Regions from separate parts of the Homo sapiens genome. Here regions 2, 3, 4, 5 and 6 are each linked to region 1. Evidence: promoter capture Hi-C in 16 types of primary human blood cells and fetal thymus (Javierre and others, 2016). All regions are on one chromosome and are shown on one strand. The core of a region is centred on a gene start or on the middle of the fragment in contact, and the rest is flanking DNA. Distances in the headings are between cores, read along the strand shown.

What was found. The method cuts DNA at HindIII sites, captures the fragments that hold promoters and counts their contacts. A CHiCAGO score of 5 or more calls a contact.
Region 2: a contact is called between the fragment with the promoter of KCNQ1 here and the fragment with the promoter of SLC67A1 in region 1, in 15 of 17 cell types (M0 macrophages, activated CD4 T cells, erythroblasts and 12 more). The highest score is 15.8, in M0 macrophages.
Region 3: a fragment that was not itself captured here is called in contact with the fragment with the promoter of SLC67A1 in region 1 in 2 of 17 cell types (M0 macrophages and monocytes); the score reaches 5.5 in M0 macrophages.
Region 4: a contact is called between a fragment that was not itself captured here and the fragment with the promoter of SLC67A1 in region 1, in 1 of 17 cell types (naive CD4 T cells). The highest score is 5.1, in naive CD4 T cells.
Region 5: a contact is called between a fragment that was not itself captured here and the fragment with the promoter of SLC67A1 in region 1, in 17 of 17 cell types (monocytes, M1 macrophages, activated CD4 T cells and 14 more). The highest score is 16.0, in monocytes.
Region 6: a contact is called between a fragment that was not itself captured here and the fragment with the promoter of SLC67A1 in region 1, in 16 of 17 cell types (non-activated CD4 T cells, naive B cells, naive CD4 T cells and 13 more). The highest score is 10.0, in non-activated CD4 T cells.

The regions. Positions count from the first base shown.
Region 1 is chr11:2,900,220-2,903,724 of GRCh38, forward strand. SLC67A1 (solute carrier family 67 member 1) reads left to right here and starts at 2,059. Exons shown (of 11, transcript NM_002555.6): 1 at 2,059-2,145; 2 at 2,995-3,270. The coding sequence starts at 3,127. SLC67A1-AS (SLC67A1 antisense RNA) reads right to left here and starts at 3,356. Exons shown (of 3, transcript NR_169305.1): 1 at 3,240-3,356; 2 at 2,365-2,490. RefSeq lists a silencer at 2,191-2,320 and an enhancer at 3,246-3,505. The HindIII fragment of the contact is 10,715 bases long and covers 1-3,505 here.
Region 2 is chr11:2,443,067-2,446,571 of GRCh38, forward strand. KCNQ1 (potassium voltage-gated channel subfamily Q member 1) reads left to right here and starts at 1,942. Exons shown (of 16, transcript NM_000218.3): 1 at 1,942-2,418. The coding sequence starts at 2,033. TRPM5 (transient receptor potential cation channel subfamily M member 5) reads right to left here and starts at 1,448. Exons shown (of 29, transcript NM_014555.4): 1 at 1,365-1,448. RefSeq lists silencers at 1,742-1,851, 1,862-1,931. The HindIII fragment of the contact is 13,739 bases long and covers 1-3,505 here.
Region 3 is chr11:2,478,817-2,482,321 of GRCh38, forward strand. The region is part of intron 1 of KCNQ1 (potassium voltage-gated channel subfamily Q member 1); the gene reads left to right. Among named protein-coding and RNA genes, the nearest start is that of KCNQ1, 36 kb to the left of the region's middle. The HindIII fragment of the contact is 1,703 bases long and covers 1,071-2,773 here.
Region 4 is chr11:2,498,190-2,501,694 of GRCh38, forward strand. The region is part of intron 1 of KCNQ1 (potassium voltage-gated channel subfamily Q member 1); the gene reads left to right. Among named protein-coding and RNA genes, the nearest start is that of KCNQ1, 55 kb to the left of the region's middle. The HindIII fragment of the contact is 2,636 bases long and covers 352-2,987 here.
Region 5 is chr11:2,517,835-2,521,339 of GRCh38, forward strand. The region is part of intron 1 of KCNQ1 (potassium voltage-gated channel subfamily Q member 1); the gene reads left to right. Among named protein-coding and RNA genes, the nearest start is that of KCNQ1, 75 kb to the left of the region's middle. RefSeq lists enhancers at 1,877-2,378, 2,379-2,878. The HindIII fragment of the contact is 5,693 bases long and covers 1-3,505 here.
Region 6 is chr11:2,551,623-2,555,127 of GRCh38, forward strand. All of the region lies in intron 2 of KCNQ1 (potassium voltage-gated channel subfamily Q member 1), which reads left to right. Among named protein-coding and RNA genes, the nearest start is that of KCNQ1, 110 kb to the left of the region's middle. The HindIII fragment of the contact is 3,473 bases long and covers 159-3,505 here.

The sequences.
Region 1 (3,505 bases), core at 809-3,308:
ACTCCAGATGCAAACACGTTTGCACTCTTTGGGCTGGAATCCCCTCGAGCGGTACACTGCACCCGTGGGCTTGCTAAGAAACCACCTCACAGAGGGCAGATTGATTGGACAAAAGGCATTTGGTCCCCAAATTGATTGACGTGTGTGAATGGGAGTTTTCAGAACAAAGACCCAAAGATATGGGGGAAACAGGCTGGGCGCGGTGGCTCACGCCTGTAATCCCAGCACTTTGGGAGGCCGAGGGGGGGCGGATCACGAGGTCAGGAGATCGAGACCATCCTGGCTAACACGGTGAAACTCCGTCTCTACTAAAAATACAAAAAAATTAGCGGGGGCTGTGGCGGGCGCCTGTAGTCCCAGCTACTCGGGAGGCTGAGGCAGGAGAATGGCGTGAACCCGGGAGGCGGAGCTTGCAGCGAGCCGAGATCGCGCCACTGCACTTCAGCCTGGGTGACAGAGCAAGACTCCGTCTCAAAAAAAAAAAAAAAAAAAAAAAAAGATATGGGGGAAATTGCCATTTCTGATGCTTAGGCTCAACAAAGTATGGACATCCATGCGGGAACACAGATGAACCAAGGGACCTGCACTAATGCTCCTGGACCGCAAGGGGAAGCGCAGCGAGGGCTGTTGGTCTAGATTTCTTGAACTTTCTGAGCAGCATTCCTTCCTTCTGGGCATGGAGCAGGACCCTCCTGGAATGGGGTCTTATGCCCTACAGTCAAACAAGAGAGGTCAGATAATTTATGGCCAGCTTCTAAACACAAAGGTGGAGGGAAAGTTAGAGCAATATTTTTAGGTTTGATGTCTGGCTGTGTGGAAAGGCGGGGTTCTGATTTCTATGACCTGCCCTGGGGAAAATGGATTCCAGTTTCTAAGGCCAGCTTCGGGGAAAATGGCACTGAGAGACAGGAGAGCAAGAGAAGGTCAGAGAAACACTTTTTCTTCCGAAGCTGCTTCTGAGGCCTTCATTTTGGGGTATTGTTTTCTGATGCCCAACATATCTGAGCTGCTGAACGAAGGGTAGCTGCTGAACCACTCCCACGGTGACTTGGAATGGCTTAGCCAGCCGGCCTTGGGCCACCTGGCTCTGGCCCCCCTGCCCACCAGGACTTTGGCCGGCTCTCGCTCGCCTCTGCGATGTCCGTCCCACCCTGTCTCACCCCTGCAGTTTTCTGCTCTGTGGAGCGATGATTGACACATGGCAGGGGGACACTGGTTTTGACATTTGAGCCTGTGCCCAGCCCTTGCCTGGGGAGGAGGTGGGGCAGGAGTCCTGAATGAGCATCTCCCTACTTAGTGACAGTCAGGGGCACGGAGAATGGTGCCCAGGCCAAGGGCAGGGCTTGGGCCAAGTGTGCGCAGCGTGGGGTGTGTGTGCTCCAGCGGCTCCTGCTGCGGAGGGCGGCATGAGGCTTGTTTACCTGTGTGCTGGCATCTCTGGTGGCCCCTGCAAGGGTGGGGAAGTGGCAGGCAGGGTGAAATGGGGAAAAGTGGGCTCTCAACTGCTCCTAGCAGCCTCCGGGTCTGGGGAGGGAAGTGAGGAGGGGCCCAGAGCTGTCTCCTGGTCACTCTTCTGGGGCTCTGTGCAGACCTTTGGCAGGGCCAGGCTACACCACACCCTCTACAACCTCCCCTGACTTCTTCCCCTAACCCCTCACCACCATTCCTCCGCTTTTCTCTCCCCGCCCCTGCCTCCCCTCCATTCTCTCCTTCCCTCCACCTCCCGGTCCCATCCCCTGCCCACACTGCCCCTCCTCAGGCCCAAAGTGGACACCGGTGCTGCCTGAGGGTCAGAGTGTCCACCTCCAGCAGCCCGGGCACCGGGCAGGATTCAAGCTGGAGGGGGCTGGGGCGGGCGAAGCCGGGCACGGGGCGAGCCCGCTGGTGGGCGGGGCAGGGGCGGGTCCTTCGAGGGGAGGGGCGGGCTCGGCCAGTGAGAGCGCAGAAACCGTGGCACGGGCGCTCCCGGAACTGGCGATTGCAAAGCGCGAGGGCTGGAACTCAGACCCAGAGGGGCGGTCCCTGTTGCAAGTCATCTCCCGAAAGGGCGGGGCCGGGGCTCATCCCGGAAGGACCGGTGTCTAGGTCACCCTGGAGCGCTCACCCCACCGGCACCCGTGCCCAAGCCCGCCCCTGCAAAGGCAGGTACTCGAGCACACTCCGGAGAGGGCGGCCTCTGAGCCCCGAACCCCGAACTCCGGCGCAGCGTCGCACCTCTGCCCAATGAGGTGCCCCTGACGTGCCTGCTGCGGCTGCCCTGCTCCCCCCAGCCTCCCTGCATCCCGGGATGGGGGAGGGCGCCAGGCGCAGCTCCCGGACCCTCAGGGGTCTCCCCGCCCTACCCCACCAGCCTGGGTTCGGTACCTCGGGGCTCAGATGTGCAGTCAGCTGTTAATGTGGCAAAATTTGGGGAAGTCCTCTGCAGCCGCAAAATCCAGTTCCCACCAGTTGGAGGCCGGGCGGGGAAGGGTGGGGACAGACAGCACTCCGCTGTGGGAGGTAAGGCAGAGCTACTGGGGAGCCTGGAAGGCTGAGCTATGTCTCCCCTACGCAAGACCATTCCAGAAGCCCCTTGGAGCTCTGGCTGCTGGCCACAGGGGAAGGTAGACCTTCCCTGAGAGCTGCACTGTGTTGGGGACAGGGCCACTGTGGGCCTACGGAGGGCCTCCAGGCACAGGGACCCACATCAGCCCTCTGGCCACAGAAGGCGCTGATGATTTGAGGTGGACTCAGCCACCACTCCGAGCCTCTGCCTCCCTCTAAAAGTGGGGCATGGCACATTCCTGTGTCAGGCAACCAGGCACTGAGCCTGGCCCACCTGCAGGGGTCGGGGGGAGCAGCTTGTCCCTGTCTCCCCTCCCCGGGAGGCTGTGTGCCTGGAGACCAGAGCTGTCAAAAGTGGAGGAGGGGGACCCCCTGATGTGTCCTCTAAGGTCCAGGTAGCAGGAGAGCTCCACTGGGGAGGGGGTCCTGCAGTGCTGTCCTCTCTTGCAGGCAAGGCCAGGCGGGTGCTGCCTGGGACCCAGTGACTCAGCACCCCTGCCCGGATCAACTGGACTTTTGCCCCCTGCTCCGCCAGCCTCCTGCTTGGATCTCTCCTGGGTCTCCCTGCTGCGCCTGTCCAGGATGCAGGGAGCTCGGGCTCCCAGGGACCAGGGCCGGTCCCCCGGCAGGATGAGCGCTCTAGGCCGGTCCTCGGTCATCTTGCTTACCTACGTGCTGGCCGCCACAGAACTTACCTGCCTCTTCATGCAGTTCTCCATCGTGCCAGTGAGTAACACACCCCAGCCCCTGCAGCCCCAGCCAGGGCTGAACCGCTGTTCCTCCTGCCCTCCATCTGGGCCGTCGCAGAGAGTGGGGGTGGGGGTTTCATGCTGCCAGGGCCCCTCCCAGTTGGGACTCATGCCACGCTTAAGCTGAGTAAGTTAAGGACTCTGCCTCTGGACCCCCGTCAGCACATCCTGTGCTCCAGCTTCAGTGCCAGCCCCGGGAGAAGCCATGGGGA
Region 2 (3,505 bases), core at 692-3,191, 460 kb before region 1:
TTTTGGATTTCAAGTCATAGTTGGAAATGTTTTCCCGATTCACAGGTTCTTGAGGAATTGACCTGTACATTCTTGTAGAATTTGCATGGCTTCATCTCACCCTTTACACTTGAGCCTCTGATTCATTTGAGATTTATTCTCGTGTGCGGTGAGATGGACCCAAGGTATGCTTTTTCTTTCTTTATGACTGTCCAGTTGTCCAAACGCTGCTTATTCAAAGCTCACCTTCCTCCTGCTGAGGTGGGAGGGGAAGGCAGAGACTCCATGCAGGTGTATGTATGTTCACCCGGAAAGTAACTGCTGAATGCGTGCTGTGTGCCCTGCAGAGCTGACTGACTGCCCCCATCTTCTGACCCGCTGCCCTTCTGCACCTTCACTGATATGCTTCCCAGGAAGGTACCCTCTCCTCGGCCTCCCTTGTGTTATCACAGCGCCCAGCACAAGCTGGGACCCACTCCATCCACTCTTGCTGCAAATACAGACTGTGCACTCCTGTGTGGCACCTCACTAGGGTGGGGAGTCAGGCGTCAAGGGCCTGGGCTGGACTCCGTCCACGATAAAAGAGCAGACTTTTGGCAGGGGGTGGTAGATACATCAAATTGACCCAGGGTGCTCAGGGACGACCTGGAAGTGTCACATGAGTTATGGGTCTCCTGGCGGGGCGGAGAGTCACCGCTGAGCTCCACCTTTAGTCCCTGCCTCAGGGCTGTGTGCAGTATCCTGAAAAAAGCCGGTCTCTTCTGTTGGCTGCCCCCCACCCCCCCCCCAAGCCTGAGACGTGCTGAGACCCAAATGCCAGTAGCGGGCGGGAGGCAGTGCAGAGACCTGTGAAAATCTTCCGATGTGACCAACCCACCCCCACCCAGGGGAATCCACGGGGCGCAGCGGCAGCGCGGTCTCGACGGTGGGGAGGACAAGGCGCCCATTCTCCAAGTTACTAGGGTGGCGCAAGCGCCTCTCCCTTTAACTGCCCAGGCAGCCCCGCCTGCTATGCCCGGCAGTCAAACCAGGTCCAGACCCCGGCTGTGCCGCCCCCACCCCCCAGCAGCCCTGCCGGCTCCCCACCCACACAGCTCCCACTGGGAGGTACCTGACAGTGGTGGTCCCATCTCACCCTCCCGGTCCAAGGGCCCTGGTGGGAAGCGACCCGAGCGTATTCGCCGCCCGCAGCTCGCGCGCCTGGGCACCCGGGGGCGCTCACAGTGATCGCGGGGCCAGCACACCCTCACCCAGGACATCCCTTTCCTCCCCCCAACCCCAACTCCGGAGTGGCTCAGAGGGAGGGAAAGTAGATGCCGGCACCCTACCCCGCCCCTCCTGCCCCCGCTGTGCCGTTCTCGGTCGTGGTATCGGCCAGGCCTTACCCCTTCCTCCCTGGCGCAGCTGGGGTCCTCCTCCGGGCCAGGCAGAGCAGGCGGGCATCAGAAGTGGGGGCCAAGCAGGTGGGTGAGGGCAGGGCAGGAGCAAGCAGGGGAGATGCAGACGGGGCGGGGCCAAGCAGGTGGGTGAGGGCGGGGCCAAGCAGGTGGGCGGGGAGGGGGCGGGGCCAGGCGGGGTAAATGCACACTGGAACGGGGCCAAACAGGTGGGCGAGGAGGGGGCGGGGCCAAGCGGGATAGATGACACGAGCGGGGCTAAGCAGGTGGGCTCGGGCGGGGGTGGGGGTGGGGGCGGGGGCGCAGGCGGGGGCGGGGGCGCGGACAGGCCAAGCCAGGGGGTGAGGCGGAGGCAGGGCCAGGCCGGTCCGTGGGGAGAGGGCGGGCCAAGCCGGTGGGCGCGGGCAGGGACGCCCTGTGCGCGCCGGACCGGCGGGGGCGGGGCGTGCAGGCGGGGGCGGGGCACGCCGTCCCATGGGACCGGCCCTCGGCCACTGCCCCCTCCGGCCCCGCCCCGAGCGCCCGGGCTGGGCCGGCAGCGGCCCCCCGCGGCGGGGCTGGCAGCAGTGGCTGCCCGCACTGCGCCCGGGCGCTCGCCTTCGCTGCAGCTCCCGGTGCCGCCGCTCGGGCCGGCCCCCCGGCAGGCCCTCCTCGTTATGGCCGCGGCCTCCTCCCCGCCCAGGGCCGAGAGGAAGCGCTGGGGTTGGGGCCGCCTGCCAGGCGCCCGGCGGGGCAGCGCGGGCCTGGCCAAGAAGTGCCCCTTCTCGCTGGAGCTGGCGGAGGGCGGCCCGGCGGGCGGCGCGCTCTACGCGCCCATCGCGCCCGGCGCCCCAGGTCCCGCGCCCCCTGCGTCCCCGGCCGCGCCCGCCGCGCCCCCAGTTGCCTCCGACCTTGGCCCGCGGCCGCCGGTGAGCCTAGACCCGCGCGTCTCCATCTACAGCACGCGCCGCCCGGTGTTGGCGCGCACCCACGTCCAGGGCCGCGTCTACAACTTCCTCGAGCGTCCCACCGGCTGGAAATGCTTCGTTTACCACTTCGCCGTGTGAGTATCGCCACCGGCGACGGCCGGCACGAAGGTGCTTCCTGAGAGCTGGTGTGGGGGAGCTCTGTCCCAGCGCCACCTGCCCCGTCGGAGCTGCGACCCCGGAGCAGAGGAGGGAAGGAAGTGGGGAAACGCAGAAACACAAACTCTGCACTCTCCCTTGAAGTTCAGAGGCGCTGCTGTGTCTGGGGGTGCGCATCTTCTCGCAGGCCCGGCGTGGGGAGGGAGCCGGCTGGGGAGGGGACCACCTGGAGCCCAGAATTTGGCTCCACACCTCCGGGAGGGTAGTCCAGGTGTGAATCCTTCTGGGAAGAGAAGCGTGCTGGGGAGCGCACCCTTGGGTGCAGTAAGATAACTCCTCAAGGTCGGCTGAGACTCGAGGCTCAGGAGCCCCCAAGAGAGAAGGCCCCTGATGTCCGGTGCCGCATCTCAGACCCCCTGAGGCCCAGGTGGACTCTGGGGCAGGGGGCTGTCCAGGATAGGAAGGTGACGGTGGCGGTGCTCCCTGAGGGCTCAGCATGCCACGGGCCGTCCCCACGGGCCCCACATTAACTAATTGAACCAAGCTCATGAAAACCTGGCTTGATGCAGAGAGCGGAGAGGCACGTTTGCAGCTCTCACTAAGAGGCAGCTGTGCTCCCGGAGAAAGCAGCGCTGGTAGCAGAGGCACCTGGCCCCCCTGTTACCAGGTGGTTCCAATTCCCGGTACAGCGTGCCTGAGCAGGGCTGGGCACTGGATTTCTCAGGGACAGGCCTGGGAAGTCACCTCCGGGAAGGTCCAGGCTGCTCTCCTCCATGCCTGCCTGGGGCCTTCCCCCGCTGCCCCAGTGGCCCTACTTCCTGGCTGCCCAGCCAGCGGCCTTTTGGTGTGGTGCCAGCCTCTGGCCTGGGAGCCTCTACCCAGACATCCCATGGCTGATGGCTGTGGGGCTCACCTGAGGGCTGAAGGGTGGTCTCCCTGAGCGTCCTCAGGTGGAAGCATCTCCTCTGCCTCGGGCAGGCTCAGTAGAGAACTGGCTGGAGGGCATCCAGAGGCCTGTCCATGCCTGCTGGCAGCTGCCACCAGGGCCTCAGGGCGGGTGACAGC
Region 3 (3,505 bases), core at 672-3,171, 420 kb before region 1:
GTCTCATCTGAGACCAGGCAAGTCCCTTCCACCTATGAGCCTGTAAAATCAAAAGCAAGTTAGTTAATTCCTAGACACAATTAGGGTACAGGCCTTGGATAAATACACCCATTTGAAATGGGAGTAATTGGCCAAAACGAAGGGGCTAAAGGCCCCATGCAAGTTCGAAATCCAGTGGGGCAGTTAAATCTTAATGCTCCAAAATGATCTCCATTGACTCCATGTCTCACATCTAGGTCATGCTGATGCAAGAGGTGGGTTCCCATAGTCTTGAGCAGCTCTGCCCCTCTGGCTTTGCAGGGTACAGCCTCCCTCCTGGCTGCTTTCACAGGCTGGCATTGAGTGTCTGCAGCTTTTCCAGGCACATGGTGCAAGCTGTTGATGGATCTATCATTCTGGGATCTGGAGGACAGTGGCCCTCTTCTCACAGCTCCACTAGGCAGTGCCCCAGTGGGGACTTTGCATGGGGGCTCCAACCCCACTTTTCCCTTCCTCACTGCCCTAGCAGAGGTTCTCCATGAGGACCCCACCCCTGCAGCAAACTTCTGCCTGGACATCCAGGCATTTCCATACATCTCTGAAATCTAGGCAGAGCTTTCCATACCTCAATTCTTGACTTCTGTGCACCCACAGGCTCAACACCACATGGAAGCTACCAAGAGTTGGGGCTTGCACCCTCTGAAGCCACAGCCCAAGCTGTACCTTGACACCTTTTAGCTATGGCTAGAGCGGCTGGGACACAGGGCACCAAGTCCCTAGGCTGCACACAGCATGGAGGCCCTGGGCCCAGTCCAGGAAACCATTTTTGCCTCCTAGGCCTCTGGGCCTGGGATGGGAGGGGCTGCTCCTAAGGTCTCTGACATGCCCTGGAGACATTTTCCCCATTGTCTTAGTGATTAACATTTGGCTTCTTGTTACTTATGCAAATTTCTGCAGGCTGCTTGACTTTCTCCTCAGAAAATGGGTTTTTATTTTCTATCACATTTTCAGACTGCAAATTTTCTGAACTTTTATCTCTGTTTCCCTTTCAAAACTGAATGCTTTTAACAACACCCAAGTCACCTCTTGAAAGCTTTGCAGCTTAGAAATTTCTTCCACCAAATACCCTAAATCATCTCCCTCAAGTTCAAAGTTCCACAAATCTCTAGGGCAGTGGTAAAATACTGCCAGTCTCTTTGCTAAAACATAGCAAGAGTCATCTTTAATCCACTTCCCAAAAAGTTTCTCATCTCCATCTGAGACCACCTCAGCCTGGATTTCATTGTCCATATCATTATCAGAATTTTGGTCAAGCCCTTCAACAAGTTTCTAGGAAGTTCCAGACTCTCCCACATTTTCTTGTCATCTTCTGAGCCCTCCAAACTGTCCAACCTCTGCCTCTTACCCAGTTCCAAAGTTGCTTCCACATTTTTGGGTATCTTTACAGCCGCACCCCACTCCCAGTACCAATTTACTGTATTAGTCCATTTTCATGCTGCTGATAAAGACATACCTGAGACTGGGTAATTTATAAAGGGAAGAGGTTTAATTGACTCACAGTTCCACATGGCTGGGGAGGTCTCACAATCATGGCGGAAGATGAAGAAAGAGCAAAGGCACATCTTACGTGGCAGCTGGCAAAGAGAGAATGAAAACAGAGTGCAAGGGGTTCCCCCTTATAAAACCATCAGATCTCATGAGACTTAATTCACTACCACGAGAACAATATGGGAGAAACTGCCCCCATGGTTCAATTATCTCCCACTGGGTCCCTCCCACAACACATGGGAATTATGGGAGCTACAGTTCAAGATGAGATTTGGGTGGGGACACAGCCAAACCATATCAGAGTTGAATCCTGTCTGGGAAGAGATGGCTGCAATAGCCAGTGTCTGGGCAGCTGATGATGTGAGAGTGTGAGGTAGAGAACTGTAGTGTGCAATAGAGACCTGTAGTGTGCATGTCAGTGTTGTTTCCCGATTTTGACAACAGTACCACATGGTTACAGAAGAGAACACCCTTATTCCTAAGAAATCCATGAGGAGGCGTTTAGCAGAAAACAGGCATGGTGTCTCCAAGGGCTCAGAAAGATTCAACCAAAAGAGGGAAGTCTGGAGAGGGACAGGATGGAGCAGGACGGGGGCAGTGTAGAAACCGCAGGCAAGTCTAAGCAGAGCACGTTTGGGAGTTCCTTCTGCTATTCTTGCAACTTCTCTATAAGTTTGAAATGAAATCATATAAATCGAAAGTTAGAAGAGAATTACCACATCATGTTGGATTTCACTCATAGCCACGAGAACGGGTGGTGGTCTCTTCTGCAGTGAACTGATGCGATGTGTGATGTCACTAGTTCTCATCCAAAGCAGATGACAATTCCAGTTACTCCTCACCAGACATAAGAAAATGCTTTTAGTAGATCAGTTTTTCTGATTGTAAAGTTCAGAAATGTTAATCAGAGAACGTGCAGAAATTTTTAAAGAAGAAAAGTAAAATGACTCATCGTACCAAAAGCCAGAGATGCCAGCTTTTAGTTTCCTGCTAGTCTTTTTCTCGGCGTGTGTGTGTGCGCGCGTGCATGCACATGTTTCTACTTGGTCTTTGTGTGTGTGTTAAGGGCGTGTACACACACAGTGCAGTCAGGAGTGAGTTGCACGTCTACAGCTAGGCTGCTTCCCCGAGGCTGTGTGGCCATCAGCCAGGCGTCCCCAACCCCCAGGCCATGAAGCACTACCAGTCCATGGCCTGTTAGGAACCAGGCTGCACAGCAGGAGGTGAGTGGCAGGTGAGCAAGTGAAGCTTCATCTGTATTTACAGTCACTCCCCATCACTCGCATTACCGCGTGAGCTCTGCCTCCTATCAGATCAGTGGCGGCATTAGATTCTCACAGGGGTGTGTACCCTGTTGCAAACTATGCATGTGAGGGATCTAGGTTGCCTCCTCTTTATAAGAATCTAATGCCTGATGATCTGTCACTGTCTCCCATCACCCCCAGATGGGACTGTCTAGTTGCAGGAAAACAAGCTCAGGGCTCTCACTGATTCTACATTATGGTGAGTTGTATAATTATTTAATTCTATATTACAATGTAATAATAGTAGAAATAAAGTGCCCAATGCAAGTAATGTGCTTGAATCATCCCAGAACCACCCACACCACTGGTCTGTGGAAAAACTGTTTTCCATGAAACCAGTCACTGGTCCCAAAAAGGTTGGGGACCACGGCCATCGGCTGTTTGCTTTATGAATTTGTGCCTCAGTTTCTTCATCTCTGAAACGGGAACGATGGGAGCCCTCACCTCGTATGGTGGTTTGAGGATTGAATGAACTCATTGTCCAGCACCCTTAGCTTCTTGCCAGCTCAGGAAGTGCTGAGCAGGGTAACCCCTATCACTGCGTGTGTGTGTGTGTATATGTGTGTGTGTGCATACTTGCCTATGTGTGTCTGTGCAAATACTTGGTAAAATTGAGAGGGTACTAGACAACTCATTTGTATCTTCTTACCTTTTGACACATGGCAGACATGTCT
Region 4 (3,505 bases), core at 420-2,919, 400 kb before region 1:
CTCATGCACTGTGCTGCGAGAATCCCCCTTGTCAGGATCAGCTGCTCTCTTCAGAGCCAGCAGGCAGGAGAGTTCAAGTCTGCTGAAGCTGTGCCCACAGCCACCCCTTCTCCAGGTGCTCTGTCCCAGGGAAATGGGAGTTTTATCTATAATCCCCTGACTGGGGCTGCTGCCTTTCTTTCAGAGATGCCCTGCCCAGTGAGGAGGAATCTAGAGAAGCAGTCTGGCCTCAGCTGCTTTGCTGTGCTTTGGTGAATTCTGCCCAGTCCAAGCCTCCCAGCCTCCTTAGCACTATCAGGGGAAAACCGCCTACTAAAGCCTCAGTAATACCAAATGCCCCTCCCGCCACCAAGCTTGAGCATCCCAGGTCAACTTCAGACTGCTGTGCTGGCAGTGAGAATTTGAAGCCAGTGGTTCTTAGCTTGCTGGGCTCCATGGGAGTGGGACCCACTGAGTGAGACCACTTGGCTTCCTGGCCTCAGCCCCCTTTCCAGGGGAGTAAATGATTCTGTCTTGCTGGGGTTCCAGGCACCACTGGGGTACAGAAAAAACTCCTGCAGCTAGTTCAATGTCTGTCCAAACAGCAACTCAGTTTTGTGCTTGAAACCCAGGGCCCTGGTGGTATAGGCACATGAAGGAGTCTCCTGATCTGCAGATTGCAAAACCCATGGGAAAAGCATAGTATCCAGGCCGGGTATCACAGTCCCGGGTATCACAGATGACGGGTTGATGGGTGCAGCAACTGCATGCAAACTGCATGTTTGCAGTTCCCTCGGCTGGGGGAGGGAGGTCTCCCGGCTCCTTGCACTTCCCAGGTGAGGCGATGCCCCACCTGCTTCTGTGTGCCCTCCGTGGGCTGCACCCACTGCCTAATCAGTCCCAATGAGATGAACTTGGTACCTCAGTCAGAAATGCAGAAATCACCCAGTGTTGATCTCACTGACAGCTACAGACTGGAGCTCTTCCTATTCTGCCATCTTGCCAGATGTAAAGTGTAGAATTTTTGATTTTGTTTTTTTGCTTGTTTATGCAATTAGTGTTAAGTCATCATCAGTTTAAAATAATGAGTTGTAAGATATTTTCAAGCCTCATGGTAACCTCAGATCTAAAACATATGGCAGACACACAAATAAAAAGCAAGAAATTAAAGCATGCCACTAGAGAAAATCACCTTCACTAAAAGGAAGACAGAAGGGAAGTAACAAAGGAAGAGAATATCTTCACCAGAAAACAAATAATAAAATGGCAAGAGTGAGTCCTTACGTATCAATAATAATATTAAATGTAAATGGGCTAACCTTGCCAATCAAAAGACAGAGTGGTTGAATGGACCCCTGCCCCCACAAAAAAAGACCCAATTATCTGTTGCTTACAAGAAACACATTTCAACCTATAAAAATACACATAGACTGAAAATTAAGGGCTTGAAAAAAGATATTCCGTGCCAATAGAAACCAGAAAAGATCAGGAGTAGCTATACTTGTATTAGGCAAAGTAGAGTTCAAGATAATAACTATAAGAAGAGACAAAGAAGGTCATTACATCATGATAAAGGGATCAATTCAGCAAGACGATATAACAATTTCAAAGAAACATCTAACTTAATCTGCACTGTAGACCAAATATACCTAATAGATATTTACAGGACATTTCATCCAGCAATTCCAAGAGAAGAATACACATTCTCCTCAGCACATAGCTCATTCTCAAGGATAGACCATATGTTAGATCACAAAACAAGTCTTGAAACATTCTAAAAAATTGAAATACTATCAAGCATCTTCTCTGACCAGTACAGAATAAAACTAGAAGTTAATAATGAGACATTTTGGAAACTATACAGACATACACATAGTAATTAAACAATATGCTCCTGAATGACCAGAGGGTCAAGGAAGAAATTAAGAAGGAAATTGAAAATTTTATTGAAATAAATTACAATGGAAACACAACTTACCAAAACCTGTGGGATTTGTTTGTGTCTTTTTTACTTCCTTGAGCAGTGGTTTGTAGTTCTCCTTGAAGATATGAACAGACACTTCTCAAAAAAAAGACATTTATGCAGCCAAAAAACATATGAAAATGTGCTCATCATCACTGGTCATTAGAGAAATGCAAATCAAAACCACAATGAGATACCATCTCACACCAGTTAGAATGGCGATCATTAAAAAATCAGGAAACAACAGATGCTGGAGAGGATGTGGAGAAATAGGAACGCTTTTACACTGTTGGTGGGAGTGTAAATTAGTTCAACCATTGTGGAAGACAGTGTGGCAATTCCTCAAGGATCTAGAACCCAAATACCATTTGACCCAGTGATCCCATTACTGGGTATATACCCAAAGGATTATAAATCATTGTATTATAAAGACACATGCACACATATGTTTATTGCACCACTATTCACAATAGCAAAGACTTGGAACCAACCCAAATGCCCATCAATGATAGGCTGGATAAAGAAAATGTGGCACATATACACTGTGAAGTACTATGCAGCCATAAAAAAAGATGAGTTTATGTTCTTTTCAGGGACACGGATGAAGCTGGAAACCATCATTCTCAGCAAACTAACACAAGAACAGAAAACCAAACACCACATGTTCTCACTCATAAGCGGGAGTTGAACAAGGAGAACACATGGACACAGGGAGGGGAACATCACACACCGGGGTCTGTTGGGGGGTGGGGGCAAGGGGAGGGAGGGAATTAGGAGAAATACCTAATGTAGATGACGGGTTGATGGGTGCAGCAAACCACCATGGCACGTGTATGCCTATGTAACAAAACTGCATGTTCTGCACATGTACCCCAGAACTTATAAAAATCCTGTGGGATACAGCAAAAGCAGTATTAAGAGGGAAGTTTCTAGTTAAAAGCACCTGCATCAATAAAGAGAAAAACTTCAAGTAAACAACCTAATGATCTTAAAGAACAAGAAAAGCAAGAGTAAGTCAACCTAAAATTAGTAGAAGAAATAATAAAGCTTAGAGCAGAAATACATGAAATTGAAGTGAAGAAAACAAGACAAAAGATCAACAAAATAAAAAGTTGGTTTTTTTTTTAAAAGATAAAATTGACAAACCTTTAGCCAGACTAAGAAAAGAAGAGGGAAGATCCAAGTAACTAAAGTCAGAGACAAAAAAAGGAGACATTACAACTGATACCACAGAAATTCAAAGGATAATTAGTGGCTGCTATGAGCAACTCTATGCCAATAAATTGGAAAATCTGGAAGAAATGGATACATTCCTAGACATGTGCAACCTACCAAGATTGAACCAGGAAGAAATGCAAACCTGAACAGACCACTAAGCAGTAATGAGATTGAACCTGTAATTTAAAAATCTTCCAACAAAGAAAACCCTGAGACTTGATGGCCTCACTGCTAAATTCTGCCAAAGATTTCAAGAACTAATACTAATCCTTCTGAAACTATTATGAAAAATAGAGGAGGAGGGAATACCTCCAAACTCATCTACAAGGCCCGTATTACCCTGTT
Region 5 (3,505 bases), core at 678-3,177, 380 kb before region 1:
CAACCTGTGCTGTTGGCATGCAGCCTGGGGGTGAGGGGTGGCGGAACGCTGCCTCAGTACCACGTCCTGCTCAAAGGCCACTTGCGAGCTAGGCTGAGCCTGTGGTGTGCGGTGGGATAGGAAGGAAAAGAACAGAGTCTAAGGAGCCTAACTCACTTCCAGATTCACCCGGAGGCCTGCATGGAGGAGGCGGCACTGAGACTTCATTCACCGAGCTTGAGGGTTTACCCTAACATTCATTCACACCATCAGTCATTCAGCAAACACTTCACAAACGTGCATCCCACGCCTGGCACTGGGCCTTCGGAGGGAGGGAATGCAGCTGGTGGGCCCCTGCCTGGGGAGCCCCTGCTCTGGTCGGGGAGGCAGTGGTGGCAGTGGCTGCCTGGCGGTCCATGAACTGGTGCAAGCCAGAGCCGGAGGCCTCCTGAGAGCCTGGCAGGGAAGCCCAGGCCAGGGCCTCCGCAGAAGGAGGGTTTGGGGTCCAGGCTTCATGTGGGGGGTCTTGTAACATGGGAGGGTAGACGCTGCCTTGGGACAGGAGAGACAGAGGCGGGGGGACCAGGGGAGTGGGCTGCAGTTGGGGTGCAGGCCTGGTGGCCCCGGCAGGGGGACCAGCCTCTGGGGAGGTGCTGCAGGCACAGGAGTTCTGTGTGGACCCAGCCGAAAGCTGGCAGGAAGGGACCTGTTTCTTGGGGTTCCCAGTCCAGATCTGTGTTGGAAAAAGTGTCAGCTGAAACCCCAAGAGGCTGGGGACAGCCTTGGTCCTGCTGTGGGACACAGGTTTAATCTCCAGATGGCTCCTGGATAGGCGGGCTGGCGGCTCTGTCTAACGGGGACAGCACACTTGGGGCTTCGGGAGACAATGAGGGCAGAAATCTTACCCACCGGCCACACCAAGTCACCCATTGTTGTGTCCCTTGGGCTGGGATCCCATGGCTTTCAAGAACTTTTTAAAGAAATGAGACTCAGCTGCCGCGGAACAAGCCACAGGTAAAGAGTATAAGACAGCGTGAGGCATGGGGTGGCCACGGGAGCCCTGGGCCAAGGAGGCCCAGTCTGGTGGGGAGGCGTCCATTCACCCGGAGCTGGACGGGGAGGACCAGGCTGTGGGTCTGTGAAGCGGGTGTGGGATCACATCCACGCTCCTTCTGTGGTTTGTGCCCTGTTGTGGCTGCCAGGGGAGGGGCTTCCAAGGCCCTGCCAACCAGCTGGGCAGTGTGGACAATGGCAGACAGGGTGCTGTGTGGGGGCCTGAGGGGCAATGGTTGGGGGGCAGCTGTTGCCGTTCTGGTGAGAAGTGGCGGTCCCTGAAGGGCTGGGGTGCTAGGGAGCCTCATGGACCTACTCCCGACGTGGCAGCTGCCTGCTGCAGATGGGCCAGCCATGTCCCGCCTGTGCCGGGAATCACCACCCCCAGCTCCCTTCTCTCCAACATGACAGGGTTCGGGTGATGCCCTGTGGGCTGAATGGTGAGAGAGGCGTCCCTGTGCTGACACCAGTGGGCGTGGACGTGACCCTCTTTTTAAAAGAATTTTTTCAGATGCAATTCCATTAAGGATCTGGAGGTGAGAGGATGAAAAGGAAACTCTGAGCTTTGAGTACATTTTTAATTATGTTTTAAAAATTAAGACATGAGGCCGGGCATGGTGGCTTACGCCTGTAATCCCAGCACTTTGGGAGACTGAGTTGGGAGGATCGCTTGAGCCCAGGAAATCGAGGCTGCAGTGAGCCAGGATCATACCACTGTCCTCCAGCCTGGGTGACAGAACAAGACTCTGTCTCAAAAACAAAACAAAACAAAACAAAAAACCAAAAAACAACAACAACTAATATATGTTTTTGACCAATACCTAATTCTGTTGTTTAAGAATTCAAAATCTACCAATAGTGATCATAAGTAATGTATTAAATACTTACATAGTACAGCAGGTGTTGGCCCCCCCCCACAACATTGGTTTCCATCCCTGGAAGCTGCAAATGTGACCTGACATAGAAAACACCCCTTTGCAGCTGAGGCTGAGGGTCCCGAGAGGCGTGATTGCATTATCCAGGGGGCCCAAGTCCAGTGACACGTGTCCTCCTAAAAGACAGGACAGATTCAACAAAGGAGGATCCGGCCACATGCTGCACAGCACGGGAGTGATGCCGCCACCCACCCAGGACGCGGGAGCCCGCAGAGGCTGGAAGGCTGAAAAGGGCCCTGTCGCCCCCACCCCCCAGGATGACGTATGGCCTGATGTGGCATTCCTGCCTCAGGACCATGGCACCAAGTGGTGGCGCTGGGGCCCCTGGAGTCGGCCAGTCTGGGCACGTCCCATGCTGTGTCTGAGCCTCAGTGTCCCCATCGATTGGTAGTGCCTCCTGAACCCCAATCCAGGGGGCTTCTGGGGGGCAGCCTGGGACCAGACGTGCCTCACCAGGGCTTCTGTCTCCTCACCAGGACTTCCATGATGTGACACCTTCCACATGGGGTTCAGAGCGGGGAACCTGTGCCTAGTGTCCAGCCCAGCGTGGGGCCCTCGGTGTGGGCCAGGGCTCACCCCTTTGGGAGGGGTCGGGAGATGCCTGGCCCAGGCTCCATCCATGCAGAGCCAGGAAGCAGGTGAACCTGTGGGGACCTTGGCGACCTCCAAACCCTGCTGAGGCTGCCTGCTGACAGCCACTGGTGAGGGGGGTGACAGCCACTGGTGAGGGGGGTGACCAGCTGGTAGCTTTTTCTGAGGTGCAGATTCAGCCCTGGGGAACAGCCCTGGCAGGCTGTGAGACCTCTGCCCCTGGGCGTCCACATCCCAGGGCTCTGAGCTCAGCAGCCCTGGAGCCGGCAGCCACATCAGGGATGGAGGGAGACCTGCTGGTGACCAGTGAGTGAGCAGGGGAAGCCTGTCCTCTCCAGCGCCCAGTGTTTCCTTCCTGGGGCACATGGGATTTGGAGGCATTTGGAGTCTCCCAGGATGACTTTTTTTTTTAAGCCCCTAGAAGTGGTTTGGGGTTTAAGCGTCAATATTTAATCTCTTGAAGTTACACATTCAAGGCCCTATCCTGCCTTCGGCTTTAGGTTCGCTTCACAAACCCATTGTCTGCTTATCAGCCTGGCGAGGTCCCGTCCCCAGTAGGGGTCTTTGAACATTGCTCGATCTCATTCACCAGCCACGGGGAACATTTTGAACCCTCTGATGCTTGCTCTATGAATGTTGTTTGCTTTAAAAAAAGTTTTTTTTTTATTGTGATAAAATACACATAACACACAATTTACCGTCTTAACTCTGTGTCAGGTCACGGCCCAGTGGCAATAGGTACATTTACATGGTTGTGCAACCGTCACCACCATCCACCCCAAAACTTCTCTCCCAAACTGAAATTCTGCACCCATGAAATCCCACTCCCTCTCCCCGGCCCCGCCATCCTGCTCTCCGCAACCGTGGATCCGTCCTCCCCATGTCCACAGATCCCCTCTCCCTCGGCCCCGCTGTCCGCTTCCCTGCGACGGTGGATTTCGCTGCTC
Region 6 (3,505 bases), core at 645-3,144, 350 kb before region 1:
GGGATTGCGGGATCATGTGTTAGATGCATATTTTCCTTTCGAAGAAACTGCCAAAGCATTTTGCAAAATGGTAGGCCCGTTTTCCACTCTTACCATCAATGTACGAGCATTCTGGCTCCTATGGATTCTCACCAGCACTTAGTATTGTCTGCTTTTTAAGCTTTGCCCATCCTAAAGGCTGGAGCCATATTCCGTCATGGTCTTCATTTGCATTTCCCTAGTGACGAATGGTGTTGGGCATATTTGCCATTCATATATCTCCTTTGATGGAGGATCTGTCCAGTTTGTTGCTGGTTTTAACAATTAGGTTGTCTTCTTAGAATAATCATGTGAGTTGTAAGAGTTGTGTCTATGTTCTGGATATGAGTCCTTCACCAGATCTGTTTTACAAATATTTTCTCCCAGTCATGGCTTTGTCTTTGCATTTTCTTAACAGGATCTTTCAAAAGAGCAGCAGTTTTTAATTTTGATGAAGTTCAATTCATCAGGGTTCTTCTTTTTTTTTTTCTTTAGGGTTCATGTTCTTTGTGTTCTGTCTAAGAAATATTCGCCTAATCCAAGATTACAAAGTTTTTTCTCCTGTTTTCTGTAGAAATTTTATAGTTTCACATTTCTTGTTTAGATCTGTGATTCATTTCGAGTTTAATTTTATATATGGTGACAGGTATGGATGGAGGTTAAATCTTTCTGCATGTGGTTATCCAGTTGTCCCAGAGACTTTTTTCCCATTGAATTACTTTGGCACCTTTGATGAAAATCAGTTGGCCGTGTGTGTGGGTTCGATTTCTGGACTTTGTCATCTGTTCTGCCAGGAAAGCACTGTCTTGATTACTGTGACTTTTACGCTAAGCCTTGAAATCAGGTCCTGTTAATCCTCCAATTTTGTTCATTTTCAAGAGTGAGCTGTTCTGCCAGCTCCTTCACATTCTCATGAATATCTTAGAATCAGCTCGTCAATTCTACCAAAAAAAAAATTGGCTAGAATTTTGATTGGCATTGCATTGGATATGTAGATAAATTTGGATCTCATACACGTCTTAGTAATACCGAGTTTTCTGATCCACGAACACGGTCTCTCTCCCCAGTGCCTCATGCACGTCTTAGTAATACCGAGTTTTCCGATCCACGAACACGGTCTCGCTCCCCAGTGCCTCATGCACGTCTTAGTAATACCGAGTTTTCCGATCCACGAACACTGTCTCGCTCCCCAGTGCCTCATGCACGTCTTAGTAATACCGAGTTTTCTGATCCACGAACACGGTCTTGCTCCCCGGTGTCTTAGATATTTTTCAACACCACTCATCAGGATTGTGTAATTTTTAGTGGTGTGAAACTTGCTAGATTTGTTCCTAAGTATTTTATGTTTTTGAAGCTACTGAAATGATATTGTTTTCTCAGTTTCACTTTTGGATTATTTGTTGCTAGGATATAGAAATACAATTGATTTGTTCGTATATTAACCTTGCGTCCTGTGACTTTGCTCATGTTACTTATTAGTTTGAGAAGGTTTCTTGTTCATCTGTTTTTGGGGTTTTTTTTGTTTTTTTTTTTTTTGTTTTTTTGTAGATTCTTTAGGATTTTCTATGGAGATGATTGTGTTGTCCACAATTAAGTCAGTCTTATTTTTGCCTTTTCAGTCCATATACTATTTATTTCTTGTTTTTACTTGAATGCACCTGACAGTGTCTGCCAGTGGGGAGAGGGCTGCTATCCTTATCTTACTCCTAAGGTGAAGTGAGGTAATCTTTCACCATTAGGTGTGGTGGGAGCTGTAGGGTTTTAGTAGAAGCCACTTATCAGGCCAAGAAGTTCCTCCTCTTCCTGGTTTGCTGGGAATAGAGAGTGCGTCAAGAATGGCTGTTGGATTTTTTGACAAGTGCTCCTTCTGCCTCTATTGAGATAATCATATCATTTGCAACAATCTCAATCAAATTCTTTCTTAATTTGCTAGTGTGGGGAATCGCACTGATTGACTTTCAAATAGCAAAGCAAACTTGCTTCCCTTACACAAAGCCCACTTGGTCATGATGAATTTTTATTTTATTTTATTTTATTTATTTATTTATTTATTTTATATGTATTTGTACTTTTTTAAATTTTTTATTTTTTTGAGATGGAGTCTTGGTCTTTTTGCCCAAGCTGGAGCGCAATGGCGTGATCTCGGCTCACTGCAGCCTCTGCCTCCCAGGCTCAAGTGATTCTCCTGCCTCAGCCTCCCGAGTAGCTGGGATTACAGGCGCCCGCCACCACACCCAGCTAATTTTTGTATTTTTAGGTAGAGATAGGGTTTCACCATGTTGGCCAGGGTGGTCTTGAACTCCTGACCTCAGGTGATCTGCCCGCCTTGACCTTCCAAAGTGCTGGGATTACAAGCGTGAGCCACCATGCCCAGCTGTCATGATGCGTTTTAAAACACCTTTTTGGATGTGACTGACTTCGGTTGTGTGTAGAACTTCCACGCCCACGCTCACGAGGGCGTCACCTGCCATGTGTTGGCTGTTGTGTCTGGTTTTGGCATCAGATGCCGCTGGCATCAGAGAATGAGTTGGGAAATATTTCCTGCTCTTCAATTTTTAGGAAGAGTTTGTGTAGAATTGCAATTATTTCTCCCTTAAACATTTGATAGCTAGAACATGTGGAGGTATCTGGGCCTGGAGTTTTCTTTGTGGAGAAGTTTGCCATTGGAAAGTCAGCAGATACAGGGCTATGCAGGTTGTCTATTTCTTCTTGATGAGGTTTTGATTGTTCATGTCTTTGAAAGTATTTGTCCCCAAGGAGCAGAAGCCCCAGCCCAAATTTGGAAACAAGACCATGTTGTGCTGACATGTCATTCCTGAGCAGCTTAGGGGCTGTGGGGTTTGCAGACCTCTGAATGCAGCCATCTGCAGGGGGACCCTCCTCAGTGCCCTGAGAGGGGGCCTGGGCTGGGTGGTCTCTGCTGCTGGCCATCCCACTGGGCACTGCCTCCCCAGGGATTCTGCAACAGGACACCGTAAGGGGCACGGGGGACAAAGATCAGACTTTCTCTGTTTCCTTCCAGCTTTGCTCCCCAGGGAGGCAGTCCCTTCTCAGAGGAATGAAATTTAAGAAGACAGGCCCTACAATTTCACGACAAGTCTGCTTTTGACTCTCCCGTTTACTGTGTAAACTTCAGCCCTAAAACAACATACATCCTTCTGAAGTTGTTCACATATTAGCTCTTAAAACAGCAAAATCCGTGCACAATTTCCTCTCAATCCCTTAAAACATTCCTGAAAGGGGGGGAAAACAACTGTTTAAATTCACCGCCTGTTATTAAAATCTCTAGATTTGCAGAATCAGAGTGAGGTACTCAGCAGTCAGAAAACAGACTAGACAGGCCCGTGTGCACACACGCGCTGACACACGTGCACACACACACGTCCACAGGGCAGCCTTTAATAACCGCAGGCCTTCCTGTCCCAACACTGCGCGGGCCCCTGAAGGGCCGGTGTGGGTTGCAGCTCCTCAATCTCTGCTAAAGTAA